Linked DNA regions of Homo sapiens: all the other regions are linked to region 2. Evidence: promoter capture Hi-C in human tissues and cell types (Jung and others, 2019). All regions are on one chromosome and are shown on one strand. Each heading gives the region's core, a stretch centred on a gene start or on the middle of the fragment in contact. The rest is flanking DNA. Distances are from core to core; before and after follow the strand shown. Region 1 has its middle 14 kb from the start of DDX56. Region 2 holds the start of CAMK2B (calcium/calmodulin dependent protein kinase II beta). Region 3 has its middle 4.6 kb from the start of NUDCD3. Region 4 overlaps NUDCD3 (NudC domain containing 3).

Region 1 (3,228 bases), core at 594-3,093, 230 kb after region 2:
CAGCTAATTTTATATTTTTAGTAGAGACAGGGTTTCACCATGTTGGCCAGGCTGGTCTCGAACTCCTGACCTCAGGTGATCCACCCGCCTTAGCCTCCCAAAGTGCTGGGATTACAGGCGTGAGCCACTGCACCCAGCCCCTGGCTAATTTTTTTAATTTTTATTTTTAGAGATGGCATTTCACTGTGTTGCCCAGGCTGGTCTTGAACTCCTGGCCTCAAGTGATCCTCACTCTTCAGCCTCCTGAATTGCTGGGATTATAAGTGAGGGCCACCATGCCTGACTTTAGCACCACTTATCTTGACACATGAAAAAGATAAACCATTCTGTTCCCACTGTTCCTGCCATCTGGTGGTCTCTTACTTGCAGCTGTATACACTCCTAACTGATGTACCTGTAATTCCCTGCTGTCCACCACCTGACTATTAGCACCCCTTCTCCTACTGTTGCCCCACAGCAGAGTCCTCAACCTCAACACTACGGACATTTTCAACCACAGAACTCTCTTGTGGGGGCTGCCTTGTACATTGCATGATTTTAACAGTATCCCCGGCCTCTTCCCACCTAAAGCCAGTAGCATCCATTGCCCAGATATGATAACCTAAAATGTTTCTTGGCTGGCACAGTGGCTCACACCTGTAATCCCAGCACTTTGGGAGGCTGAGGCGGGCAGATCACTTGAGGTTAGGAGTTCATGACCAGCCTGGCCAACATGGTGAAACCCCATCTCCTAAAAATACAAAGATTAGCTGGGTGTGGTGGCACATGCCTGTAGTCCCAACTACTTGGCAGGCTGAGGCAGGAGAATCACTTGAACCCGGGAGGTGGATGGAGGTTGTAGTGAGCCAAGAACACACCACTGCACTCCAGCCTGGGCAACGGAGCAAGACTCTGTCTCAAAAAAAAAAAAACAACAATATTTCTATACTTTCCCAAAAGCCCCACTGGGGCAAATCTGGCCAAGAACCACCACCCTGCAGGAAGCCTGTGCTAAGCCAACTAATCTGCTCCCTCCACCCAGCTCTGCTATAACCAAGCCAAGCCTGTCTCTCAGGCTTCTCCGGGCCTTCCCAACGCCTGCGCATACAATCTCCTTGGCAGTGAGGATTTCTACCACCACCCAGGCCTGAGTGGTCTCTCCCTCCTCTGGCCATGATAGCAGGGGTTGGCTGTCTCCCTTGGCACTTGGCCTAACCATCACTGCATTCATGCATTTTGCTTCTAAAAGCTGAGGTCCTGGTTCCCGGGGCGGGGGCCATACCTCCTACACCAAGAATCCTTGAACCTATAGGGGTCCAATTTGTACATTTCGGTGATTGTATTAGGTACTTCGCTTCACGAATACAGCTGCAGTCAGGACCCGTTGCTGTCAAAGCCATAGACTCAGGACTGTGTGACCCTCCATCTCCCCACTGCTGGAACAGCCACAAGCAGTTCAGGAGCCTGGTCCCCCAGCCCACTGCTGAGGAGAAGGGCGTGTTGGTCCATGGAGGGGATGAGGCAGGCTGAATCTATAAAGGGTCGGGGGGTCCCAAGTACTTCCTGAGGGCTCCCTGAATGGGAGGATGGGCAGCTCTGCCCTGACTGTTGCTCCCAGCATCCCAGCTGCAGGTTCTGATGGAAGAGGGTCTTAGCCTGGGCAGGGCTAAGATGGTGAAGCCAGACCACTAGCAGGGGTAGCCACCAGAAATGGAGATCACATGTCAAGGCTGAGGGGAGGCAAGGTCTGGGGACTGGCCCTACATGCTTACTCTCTACTGTACAAGCATCAGTTGCTTCTCACATTCGTCCCAGCCCTGCAAGCTGATGGGTAGCCTTCATCCTGGACCCTTTGTCTTCTGTGATGGTCCCCCTCAACACAAAACTGCATTTTCTAACCTTGAACCAACAAGTTGTACAGTGAGCTGTGGGGAACAAAAGGGGCCATGAGAGGGGCCTGAAGCAGGGTCTCCCAGATGGGAGCAGGCATGGGCCCCTGCCTACTACGCCTGATACCCCTGGCCTTGACAAACATGAGACCCGTGGAGGACGAGGATGAGGGCTTCCTGTCTGAGCCCTGAGTCATGGAGGTGACACAGAGGGAGGGTCCTGCCTGCTGCACGGGGGGCACAGAGTCCAGCTCCATGCGGTGCTATTCCTACCACATCCTTCCCTCTGCTTTTAACTGGAATTAGTCCTCAAGAGCCTCAGGCAGTAGAAAGGTTGTGAAAAGAGAATTACCTCCGGGGCATTAAGGATACTCTCAGGGAAAAGCTTTTAATGAACCACTGGACTCAGGAACACACAGATATGCAACTTGGCATGGTCCTTGCCTCCGAAGAGCTCCCACATCAAGGTGGGGACAGGCCCCAGCAATTAGAGCTTCATGAGGTCAGAGCAGCATCAGACACACAGAGGAGGATGCCCAGCCCAGGCTGGCGCTCAGGAAGACTTCCTGGAGGAGGCCACGCGTGGGTCAGAGAGGTCTCACAACCTAGGGTTGCACATTTAGCAAATAAAAAGCAGGATGCCCAGCTATACTGGAATTTCAGAGAAACAGTGAATATCTGTTTTAGCATATGTCCCAAATATTGGACAGGACACGGTTATGCTGTAAAATTCCTCATTATTTGAAATTCCAATCTAGCTAGACATCTCCTACTTTACCTGGCCTCCCACGTCACCATGACTTTCGGATTAAGTGTTGGGCTCAGAGAAGGGATGTGACAGGGAAGTTTCATATCCAGGACTTGAACCTAGGTATCCCACCTCCAATTCCAGACTAGAGTCTGACAGACACAGCACCTCCCCTCTACCACTTAGCCAAGTGACATTGGGCTGGCTAGTTAATCTAAGCTTTTGCCAATCTGCAAAATAAATGTGTGTGGTGGATATTAAAGCCTTGCCTCTCAAATGTGGACTAGAGACCAGCACCTTTGGGCTCACCTGGGACGGAGGTGAGAACTCAAATGCAGAACCCCAGGCTGTGCCCTAGACGTATTCTCGTGGAAGTATGGAGACACGTCCCAGAAGGCAATGGTGGATTCAACAGGCATTGGGAGGTGCTAGCACAGAGCTGGGCTGCAACAGGCGTGCCAGGTGCCTGAGCCACTTCGGCCCCTACAGGAACCCTTGGAGGGGACATTTTACCCCCACTTACAGGTGAGAACCTAGAGAAGGCCAAGAAAAGTGACATGCCTTCCCTGTATGAGACCATACAGTCAGAAAGTGGCCATCATGGTCTGACCT
Region 2 (3,184 bases), core at 119-2,618:
GATCTGTTGCTGGATGTGTAAGAGGAAATCTCGCCAGCACCGCCAGCGCCCCCACCGCCTGCACTGAAGGGACGGAGGAGGATGGGGGAGGACGCAGGAGGATGGGGCTCTGGCCCAGTCAGGCTGGAGATTCAGGAGTTCTGAAGCTAGCCCTAGGGATGCCAGGTGCAGCCACCTTGATTCTCAGAACGGGAGACCCCAGGCCAGACAGGAGGCCCCTGAGGCGCTCCCCATCTCACCCCAGGGGCAAAGCCGGGTCCGGGGACCACGAACCAGACCTTCGCCCTACACTGCTCATACTGCCAAGGAGAGAACGGGAGCCACAGCACCTGTTCCCCGTGAGGTCCCACTTCAAACAAACCTTCAAAGCCCCTTCCCCTTTAGGGCGCCCCCGCCAACAGTCCAAAATCCAGCCCCCATCCACCTCGATGACCCTGAAATTTGCAATCCAGTCAGGCTCTTAGTCTCTCCCCGCTATCCCCATGACCTGATCCAGGCTCCCTGACCTCGTCCTCCCCACACCTCCAAATTCCTGTTTCCAGAAGAATCTGGGGGAAAATCCTCCAGAACCCAGATTCCCCAGGGGACCTACAGCAGAGGCTCTCCCACGCCGGCACCCCCAGCGCGGATGGGGCCACGCGCAGGAGCAGGCGCAAGCAGGTCCCGCCACCCCCGCCGCCTGCCGCTCGGGTGGGGGTGGGGACAGCGCACCCGCGTCGGGGACGACCCTCTGGGGCCGCAGCCGACCCCTCCCGGCGCTCCAGGCCCGGGGGCCACCCCCGCGCGCCCCTCCTCTCTGACCTCCCCGCCGCCAAATGCGTCACGTCTGCCGGGCGCTCCGGGGACACCTGCTGCCGCCCCCGCCGCGCCAAGTCGCGAGCCCGGAGCCCCGGCCCGGCAGCCGCGCTGGGCAGAGCTGGGCAGGGCCGCGCGCGCTGAGGTCAGGCAGCCAGGCCCGGGGCCGGGGGCTCGCGGGTCGGGGCCGCGCGGGGCCGTGCGCTTGGGCCCGGAGCCCAGAGAAGCCGGCGGCGCGCGGGCCCGCAGTGCGCCTGGAGCCGGCGGCGCGGAGGGTCCCGGAGGTCCCGGCCCTCTGGGGTCCCCGGCCCAGCCCGCGCGCGCCGCTGCTCTTACTTGCCAATATCCTCGTAGAGCTGGTACTCGTCGGTGAAGCGGGTGCAGGTCACCGTGGTGGCCATGGCGGCGGCGGACGGGCTCGGCGTGCGCTCGGCTGCGCTCGGGCGGCGGCGACTCCGGCTCCCGCTCGCGGGCACGGCGGCGACACGGGCGCGGGCGCGGGAGACACCTCGGCTCGCGGCGCCAGGCGGGGGCCGGGCTGGGCTGCGCCGGGCGGCGAGCGCACGCGAGATCTGCTCGCTCCGTCCTCGCCAGGAGCGCGCCGCACACCTACGCGCGGGGAGGCGCGGGCGCCGCTGTCACCGCCGCCGCCGCCGCGCCCGCCCCGCCCGCCGCCCCCTGCACGCGCCTTCCCCGCGCCCTGCACACGCTGCTCCTGCACCCGCACCCGCAGGGCACCGGCGCCCTGCATCTGCACACGCGCCCTGCACACACACCCTTGCCCCGCACCCGCAACGCACCTGCACCTGCACCTGCACTCACACGCGCGCCCGCCCCCGCCCGCCCCCGCACCCCACACACACACCCGCGCCCTGTACTGACGCCTTCATCCTCTACCCGCACCACGCCCGCACCTCGCGCACGCAGGCCACTTGCTGCTGCCGACCCCTCGCTCTCACATAACACAGAAGAGTGCACATAATGAACGCAGCCTCCTCTCTCTCTCTCGAAGGCCCACCTAGCCTGACAGCAGGAGGGGACTGGGGCCCACATGGAGGTAGAGGGCTCATGTGCTGCCCTCCACAGGACTCATTCCTCACACCCTCAGGAAGAGATGCTGCCAGATCCCTTCTGCCCAGTCTCCATCAGCCACACATGCCCCAAAGGCTGCCTGGCCAGGAGGAACCGCCCAGAAGGCAGTGTACACACTGGGTCACTAGCATGAGAAAGTGAAAGGGTGGGGCCTGCCCCCTCCCCTTGGCCCCAGCCCCTCCCTTCCCCCTCACTTCTCCAAAGACTGGTTGCTGGGTTGTCTGGAATGGAGGTCCCAGGAGGCAACATTCGGAGTCCAGACCAACGGACCCTGAGCCAGGGGAACAGGGGCTGCTCCACCAGCAATTTGGGGGGCCTGAGAGCTCACAGCCACCCTGATCAGGTAAAGGTGCACATTCTCTCCTTTTCCAGCACGGTCCACCTGCCTGCCCCCTGCTTTTGCCTGGAGGAGGAGGGCCCACACACCCCAACCCCCTCCTGAAAGCAGCCAAGGAGGAGGAGAGTGCAGGGAGGCAGGCAGGAGGCAGGGCGACCCGGTTTCCCACAAAACAGCCTTCCCTGAGGCCTGGCACCAGGGCTGCTGTCCAGAACCGGGACTTTAGACCACTGGGCTCCAGCATCCCCACACTCTTCTCTGACGGGGTCCATCCTGGGCAGGCTCTGAGGAGGGGGTTTCCAGCAGCCAGCTCTGGATTTGGGTCACGCTGCTGCCCTGATATGACTTCCTTACTGCTCCCCAAGGACCAATTCTGGGCCTATCCTGCTCATCCCTCTCACCTCGTGGCCAGCCCAGGGCAAGCCCCAGAAGCCACAATAAATGTCATGTGGATAAGGGAGGGGATAAAGGCATTCTGAGTGCTGGCAGCCAGGGCCCTTCTGGGCCAGGATGCATTTGGCATGGGACTGCTGGGCAATTAGTAGACCACACGGCAACAAGTCCCTGCCATCGACCCACCTGCACCCAGAAGACACTAGAGGACGAGAAATTCTCAGGCCAAAGGCAAATGCTGGGCCACCTGGGGAAGTCCCCAGCTGAGGAAGCAGAGGGATCCTGGCCTTGACTTCAGCAGGACCATAGCAGGAAGGGAGACCCCGTCTATGTCAGACTTGGACTCAGAGAATCCTGGGCCATCCTAACAGACAGACTGGCATGGGCTCGAGAAAGGACTGGAGGCCAAGTCTGAGGTTTGTTCTTGGCGTTGTGTTTAACCCCACAGGAGTTTCTTCCAGCACCTGCTGGATGCATCCATATTTTCCCTTTCTGAGCTCTGGAAAGACGAGGTAGGGCCACACAACAGAATACAAATAACAAGCCAAGCACGGTGGCTCACGCCTG
Region 3 (3,264 bases), core at 260-2,759, 170 kb after region 2:
AAATGAGGTTATAAGGGTGGGACCTTAACCCAATGGAACTGGTATCCTCATAAGAGGAGAAGGAGACACTAGAGATCTCACTCTGCACACATGCAGAAGAAAGGCCATGTGAGGACACAGTGAGATTGCTTCAAGCTAGGAAGAGAATTCTCACCAGATACCAACACCTTGGTCTTGGATTTCTGGCCTCCAAGACTGTGAGAGAATAAACATGTGTTGTTTAAGCCACCCAGTCTATGGTACTTTGTGACAGCAGGAAGCTAGGACAATGGCCTGCCTTGATTCCTGCTGAGACACTTGCAGTTTTACCTGCCATTGCTTTTGCACCATCATTGCAAATGTCAACATGGTAAAAAAGCAAATAACATCATAGTATTGTTATTTTTACCTTGGAGGCCCCCCAGGGCCACATACTACACTCTGAGAATCACTGCCCTAGAGAATTAATGAATCTCGGGTGAGCCTGTTATATAATTCCTCAGTATAACTGGAAGCACATGCAGTCATCTTCTTGCTATATTCAAAGTTTTGAATAATTTTCTTTAGCACCTAAAGGAAGAAATGGAACAGACGCTGCATCTGGAGAAGGGAAATTGAGGGAAACACTATAAAACAGGAGAAAAACTTACTTTTGTATTTGATACCATATACATGCATTACCTATTCAAAAAGTAAATAAAATATCTTTTTTTTTTTTTTGAAACAGAGTCTCGCTCTGTCGCCCAGGCTGGGGTGTAGTGGCACAGTCTCAGCTCGGCTCACTGCAAGCTCCGCCTCCTGGGTTCACGCCATTCTCCCGCCTCAGCCTCCCGAGTAGCTGGGACTACAGGTGCCCGCCACCACACCCGGCTAATTTTTTGAATTTTTAGTAGAGACGGGGTTTCACCATTCACAGGATGGTCTCGATCTCCTGACCTTGTGATCCACCCGCCTCAGCCTCCCAAAGTGCTGGGATTACAGGCGTGAGCCACCGTGCCCGGCCAAAATATCTTTTAAATTGAATGGAAAGCTAAACATAATGTCATAACACAGTCCAGCAATCATGCTCTTATGTATTTACCCAGCTTATTTGAAAACTATGTCCATACAGAAATCTACATGCAAATGTTTATTGCAGCTTTACTCAAAATTGCCAAAAATGGGAAGCAACCAGGTGCCGTCAACAGGTACTGGATAAACGAAAGGTAGTACATTCATAGAATGAAGTACTGTTTTCAGCAGTAAGAAGGAATAAGCTGTCAATCAATAAAAAGATATGGCTTAATCTTAAATGCGTATTGCTAAGAGATAGAAACCACTCAAAAAATGCTACCACCCAATTATATGACATTCTGAAAAATGCAAAATGTAGAAACAGTAAAAGATCAGTGGTTGTCAGGGTCTGCGTGTGAAAAAAAGGTTGAATGATGCACAGGGAATTTTTTAGGATGTAAAATTATTCTATATGATAGTAATTACTATCATAGAATAATGATAGTAATAATTATTAATAGTAATAATTATTAATAGTAATTATTAGTAATAATAGCAATAATTAGTAATTAGTAATTAATAGTAATAATTAGTAATTAATAGTAATAATTATTAATAATAATAATTAGTAGTAATAATGATAGATACGTGACACTACACATTTGTCAAAACCCATAGAAATTTATAGCACCAAGAGTAAACCTTAATATAGGCAGTCTTTTAAAAAATCACTTAGGAGATTGGGGGATCCCAGAATGGGTTGCAGAATGTGACAAAACAATCTAACTGTGTCACAGATGTATGAAACAACCTCACTGAAGGGATGATAGAAAGAGATGCTGTCCTAAGTAACTTTGGAAATGAGCAGAGTCTGTAAGACTAAAGACAAAAGGAACTGTATATAAACACTGAAATCTAGTTGATACAATTATTCCTAACAGGGGTATGGGTTATCAATTCTGAAACCGCTAGATATGTATAGTGGAAATGAGCAATTAAGTAAATGGTGGAGGGTGGTGGGATCCAGGTTTCTCACTGGTGGAGTGAGAGAGTTATAAATAAGCGGGGAAGGAGGCTAGAATGATCCATGTGGTAATAGATCAGAGTTAGAAATTCATCCTTATAGATACAGATGGCTATGTGTAGAACTGTTTACAGAAATGTGTATATATGCAGGTGAGTGTACATACATGTATTTACTTGCTCTCAGCTGAGAAGGTCTAGAAGCAACAATGCTTCAGTAACAACGAGCATACCTTCCACCCAGATCTTGGTTTCTGATATTCTCCAATAGAAGGAACCAGGGCTTCTTGGAGAAATGGCTGATTCTAGGACTGGCACAGAAAATATACAAGATGCGCCTGGAGCATCTTGTGGGTGGTGTCTCAAAGTAAAGGAAGTGCAAAGAAAAAAAAAACCACACAATGATGGGGGTATGACAAAGGAAAGCGCTTCCAATGGCCAAAGCTGGAACAATTTGAGCAGCAAAATAAGGTATTATTATATTAGAACCCAAAATATAAAACAAATACCTGTGAGTCCATACCGATATACATATAAATATATTGATATATACATACCTATATGATATATAGAGATATTTCTCATACTGAATAAAGAAATGGAAGAAAATAGACACATTTTCTGTTCAGAAGAATTCCCAGTTATTTATGTAGCTAGTCTGCCCTCAAGGAGGTGGAGCATGACTCCCTACTTCTTATGTCTAGGATACATGTAGTGACTCTTCCTAATGGTAGAGCGTGGAAAGGGGAGAAACCTGACGAGGATGACCTCAGCCAGGTGATCGAGGTCAACATCAACAATGATAAGTCATGTTTGATAGTATACACCTTTAATATGCTATGAATGACACCTTACCTCTGTGGTCTTCCTCTCAAAAACCCATAACCCTAGTCTAATCATGGGAAGAATGTTGGACAAGCCCCATTTGAGGAACATTCTACAAAATACCTAACAAGTACTCCTCAAAACTGTCAAGGTCATCAAAAACAATGAAAGCCTGAGAAACTGTCACAACCAAGAAGAGCCTAAGGTGACCTGACAACTAAATATCATGTGGGGTCCTGGGTAGGATCCTGGAACAGAAAAAGGACATTAGGTAAAAATTAAGGAAGTCAAAATAAAGTAGGCACTTTAGTTAGTAGTAATTATCAGTATTTATTAATTGTGAAAAATGAACCATACTAATGTAATAAGTTAATAATAGGGTAAACTGGATGTGAGCTATACAGGAACTCTGTAGTCTCTTTGCAATTTATTTTGGAAATCTAA
Region 4 (3,422 bases), core at 278-2,777, 130 kb after region 2:
AAAAACTTTCTGTGTCATGGTCACTTTCTAGCGAGGTTACTAGAGGATTCTGTCAACTGAATCATGAGATTTAACAAAAAGTAAGGACTGTAGCTCACATCATCCTCAATGGTGAAACACTAGACATTTTCCCCGATGAATGGAATAAGACAAGGGTGCCTACTCTCACTATTTCTATTCAACTTTGTACTAGAAGTTCTAGCCAGGGGAGTTAAGCAAGAAAATAAATAGTATCCAGATGAGAAGAAAAAAGTAAAATTATCTGTTTGCAAATGAAAAGATCTTGTATATAGAAAATCCTAAGGAATCCACTAAAAACTATGCATTAATAAACAAATTTAGCAAAGCTGCAGGTTACAAGATCACTATACAAAAATCTATTGTATTCCTATAAACTAGCAATGAACAATCTGAAAATGAAATTAAGAAATATTCCATCTACAATAGACTCAAAAAAGAATAAAATACTTAGGAATACATGTTTTAAACTACGAAACTAATGGGAAAACATATTTGTAAATTATATATGTAATACAGGACTTGTATGTAGACTACATAAAGATGGTTAAAGAGTTTGAATAGTTATTTCTCCAAAGATATACAAATAGCCAATAACGCACATGAAAAAATACACATTTTTAGTTACTAGAAAATGCACATGGAAACTACAATGAGATCCCACTTCATGCCCACTAGAATAGCCACAATCAAAAAAAATAGATAAGTTTTGGCAAGGATGTGAAGGAATTGGAATCCCCATAGATTGCTGGTGTACAATGGTGGAACTGCTTTGGAAAACAGCCTGGCACTTCCTCAAAAGGTTAAACATACAGTTTAACAGGACCCAGCATTTATACTCCTAGGTATATACCTAAGACAAATGAACATATATGTCTACACAAAAGCTTGTATACAAATGTTCATAGCACTATTCCTCATAATAGCAATCCAACTGTCCACCAACCGATGAATAAACAAAATGAAGTATGTCCATACAATAAAATATTATTCTGTCAGTAAAAGGAATGAAGTACTGATAAATGCTACAACATGGATGAATCCTGAAAACACTCCATTAAGTGAGAAAAGCCAGACACAAAGGCCACATAATGTATTATTCCATTTATATGAAATGTCAGAATTGGCAAATCTACAAAGGCAAAGTAGACTGGTAATTGCCTAGGGCTGGGAGGTTTGAGAGAAAATGAGGAGTGAATGCTAATGCATACAAAGTTCTTTTTCAGGTAATAAAAATGTTCTGGGGCCAGACATGGTGGCTCACACCTGTAAACTCAGCACTTTGGGAGGCTGAGGCAGGTGGATCACCTGAGGTCAGAAGTTTGTGACTAGCCTGACCAACATGGTGAAACCCCGTCTCTATTAAATACAAAAAATTAGCCAGGCATGGTGAGCATGCCTGTAATTCCAGCTACTTGGGAGGCTGAGGCAGGAGAATCACTTGAACCTGGGAGGCGGAGGTTGCAGTGAGCTGAGATTGTGAAATTGCACTCCAGCCTGCGCAACAAGAGCGAAACTCTGTCTCGGGGGAAAAAAAAAGTTCTGGAATTAGATAATAGTGGTAGTTATACAACCTTGTAAATATGTGAAAAGCACTGAATTGTACATGTTAAAGTACAAATTTTAAGATACGTGAACTATATCTCAAGTTTTTAAAACCGTACATGTGTCTGGTATGGTGTGCCATGTGCACTTGGTGTGATGTGTGTGCATGCATACAAGCATGTGTATGAGCCTGGAGAAAGGTGTGCAAGGACACATCTCAGTATACTGACACTGGCTGCAGGATTAGACGGGGAGTGCTGTGTGTGTGTGTGTGTGTGTGTGTGTGTGTGTGTGTGTGTGTGGTGATGTGTATGCATACATACAAGCATGTGTATGAGCCTGGAGAAAGGTGTGCAAGGACATCTCACAGTATATTGACAATGGCTGCAGGATTATAAAGAAGAAATTCCTTTCAACAATGTTGTGTTGTTTTGGGAGTATTATTAGTTTTGGAGTTTTAAAAATTTATTCCTAAGTATTTTTTTATATATATTCTATTGTAGATGGATTTTTCTTAATTTTTTCTTTTTTTTTTTTTTGAGACAGGGCCTCACTTGGTTGCCCAGGCTGAGTGCAGTGGCACGATCATGGCCCACTGTAGCCTTGACCTACAGGGCTCAAGCAATTCTCCCATCTCGGCCCCCTGAATAGCTGGGACTATAGGCATGCACCACCATGCCTGGCTAATTTTTCAAGACGGGATCTCACTATGTTGCCCAGGCTGGTCTGGAACTCCTGGGCTCATGCAATCCTTCTGCCTCGGCCTCTTGAAGTGTTGGGATTACAGGAATAAGCCACCATGCCTAGACCTGTGGTCATGTATTTTCTAATATTATAATTGTCTAATAAAGAACTAGCAAATATAATTGTTTTAATCAGAAGAAAATTGAACAAGGTAATAATAGTGATAGAACTGGATAATTCTATTTTCCAAATTTTCCAAATTACTTTTGTAATTAATTAAACAACTGCTTTCCTAACTGTCACACATCTATAACATATGGTGGAGAAGAAGATACCATTGCTAAAAGCAACACAAACATTAACTGTATGGCTACTAATGGATCTGAGGACACATGAGATTTGTATATAATTCTTGAGGGCAACTTTCTGTAACTGAATTTAATGACAGAAAAAAGGAAGCCACCAACAATAGAATGATATGCTTCCTTTTAACAGGAAAATTTAACGAGAACAAAACTGATCATACTCTTCAAGTTAATATGGAGTTTTAACATAATATCAATTAAAGTCCCCAAGTGGTATAATACAAAACTTGATCAAGTCACAGTGGAATTCATTTTAAAGAAATCAAACAATATTAAAGAACAGTCTTGAGCCCTTTAGTAGACAATGGAATGGTATATTTAGCCTACAACATTAAAGCAGAGAGAAATTTCTAAAATCTAACATAAAGAAAATCACTGAAGGCAGTATCGATGTGGTAAAATCCCCACACTAAATTCAGTGAATCAACTGATAGAAGAAAAGCAGTGAATAAGAAAATGTGAGGATTTGTAAAACTACAGAAGGATAATATCCAGACTCCCATCAATGAGTAAGTGGAGTTAATGAGTTAACAAAGTAGGAAATAACAACAGTAAATCACTGTGTAGAAAATGTAATCTTTCTATAAATAAAGAAATGCAAAGTAAACTATAAGCTATCATCATAACTGTTTAACTAAAATTTTAAAACATATTTCTTACCTGGTATGACTAAGTACGGCCTGCCCTAGGAAGGAAAGCATATAAGGCCATTATGAACATGCTCTACTGCATTAGCAGGAAGTGGGCAGCTACCACAAGACTCCAAATAGTATGCCAGACTCTACCACGTGCCCTTTTTAAAAACCCACC

What was found. Contacts are between HindIII fragments. The study calls those that stand out against the background at their distance.
Region 1: a fragment that was not itself captured here is called in contact with the fragment with the promoter of CAMK2B in region 2 in 2 of the 25 tissues and cell types used here (H1 embryonic stem cells and dorsolateral prefrontal cortex).
Region 3: a fragment that was not itself captured here is called in contact with the fragment with the promoter of CAMK2B in region 2 in 1 of the 25 tissues and cell types used here (dorsolateral prefrontal cortex).
Region 4: a fragment that was not itself captured here is called in contact with the fragment with the promoter of CAMK2B in region 2 in 2 of the 25 tissues and cell types used here (dorsolateral prefrontal cortex and spleen).

Annotation. Positions count from the first base shown.
Region 1 is chr7:44,558,646-44,561,873 of GRCh38, forward strand. No RefSeq gene overlaps it. Among named protein-coding and RNA genes, the nearest start is that of DDX56, 14 kb to the right of the region's middle. RefSeq lists an enhancer at 2,712-3,228. The HindIII fragment of the contact is 3,931 bases long and covers 1-3,228 here.
Region 2 is chr7:44,324,226-44,327,409 of GRCh38, forward strand. CAMK2B (calcium/calmodulin dependent protein kinase II beta) reads right to left here and starts at 1,369. Exons shown (of 24, transcript NM_001220.5): 1 at 1,132-1,369. The coding sequence starts at 1,196. The HindIII fragment of the contact is 12,993 bases long and covers 1-3,184 here.
Region 3 is chr7:44,493,617-44,496,880 of GRCh38, forward strand. No RefSeq gene overlaps it. Among named protein-coding and RNA genes, the nearest start is that of NUDCD3, 4.6 kb to the left of the region's middle. The HindIII fragment of the contact is 7,594 bases long and covers 1-3,264 here.
Region 4 is chr7:44,457,116-44,460,537 of GRCh38, forward strand. All of the region lies in intron 2 of NUDCD3 (NudC domain containing 3), which reads right to left. Among named protein-coding and RNA genes, the nearest start is that of NUDCD3, 32 kb to the right of the region's middle. The HindIII fragment of the contact is 5,507 bases long and covers 1-3,422 here.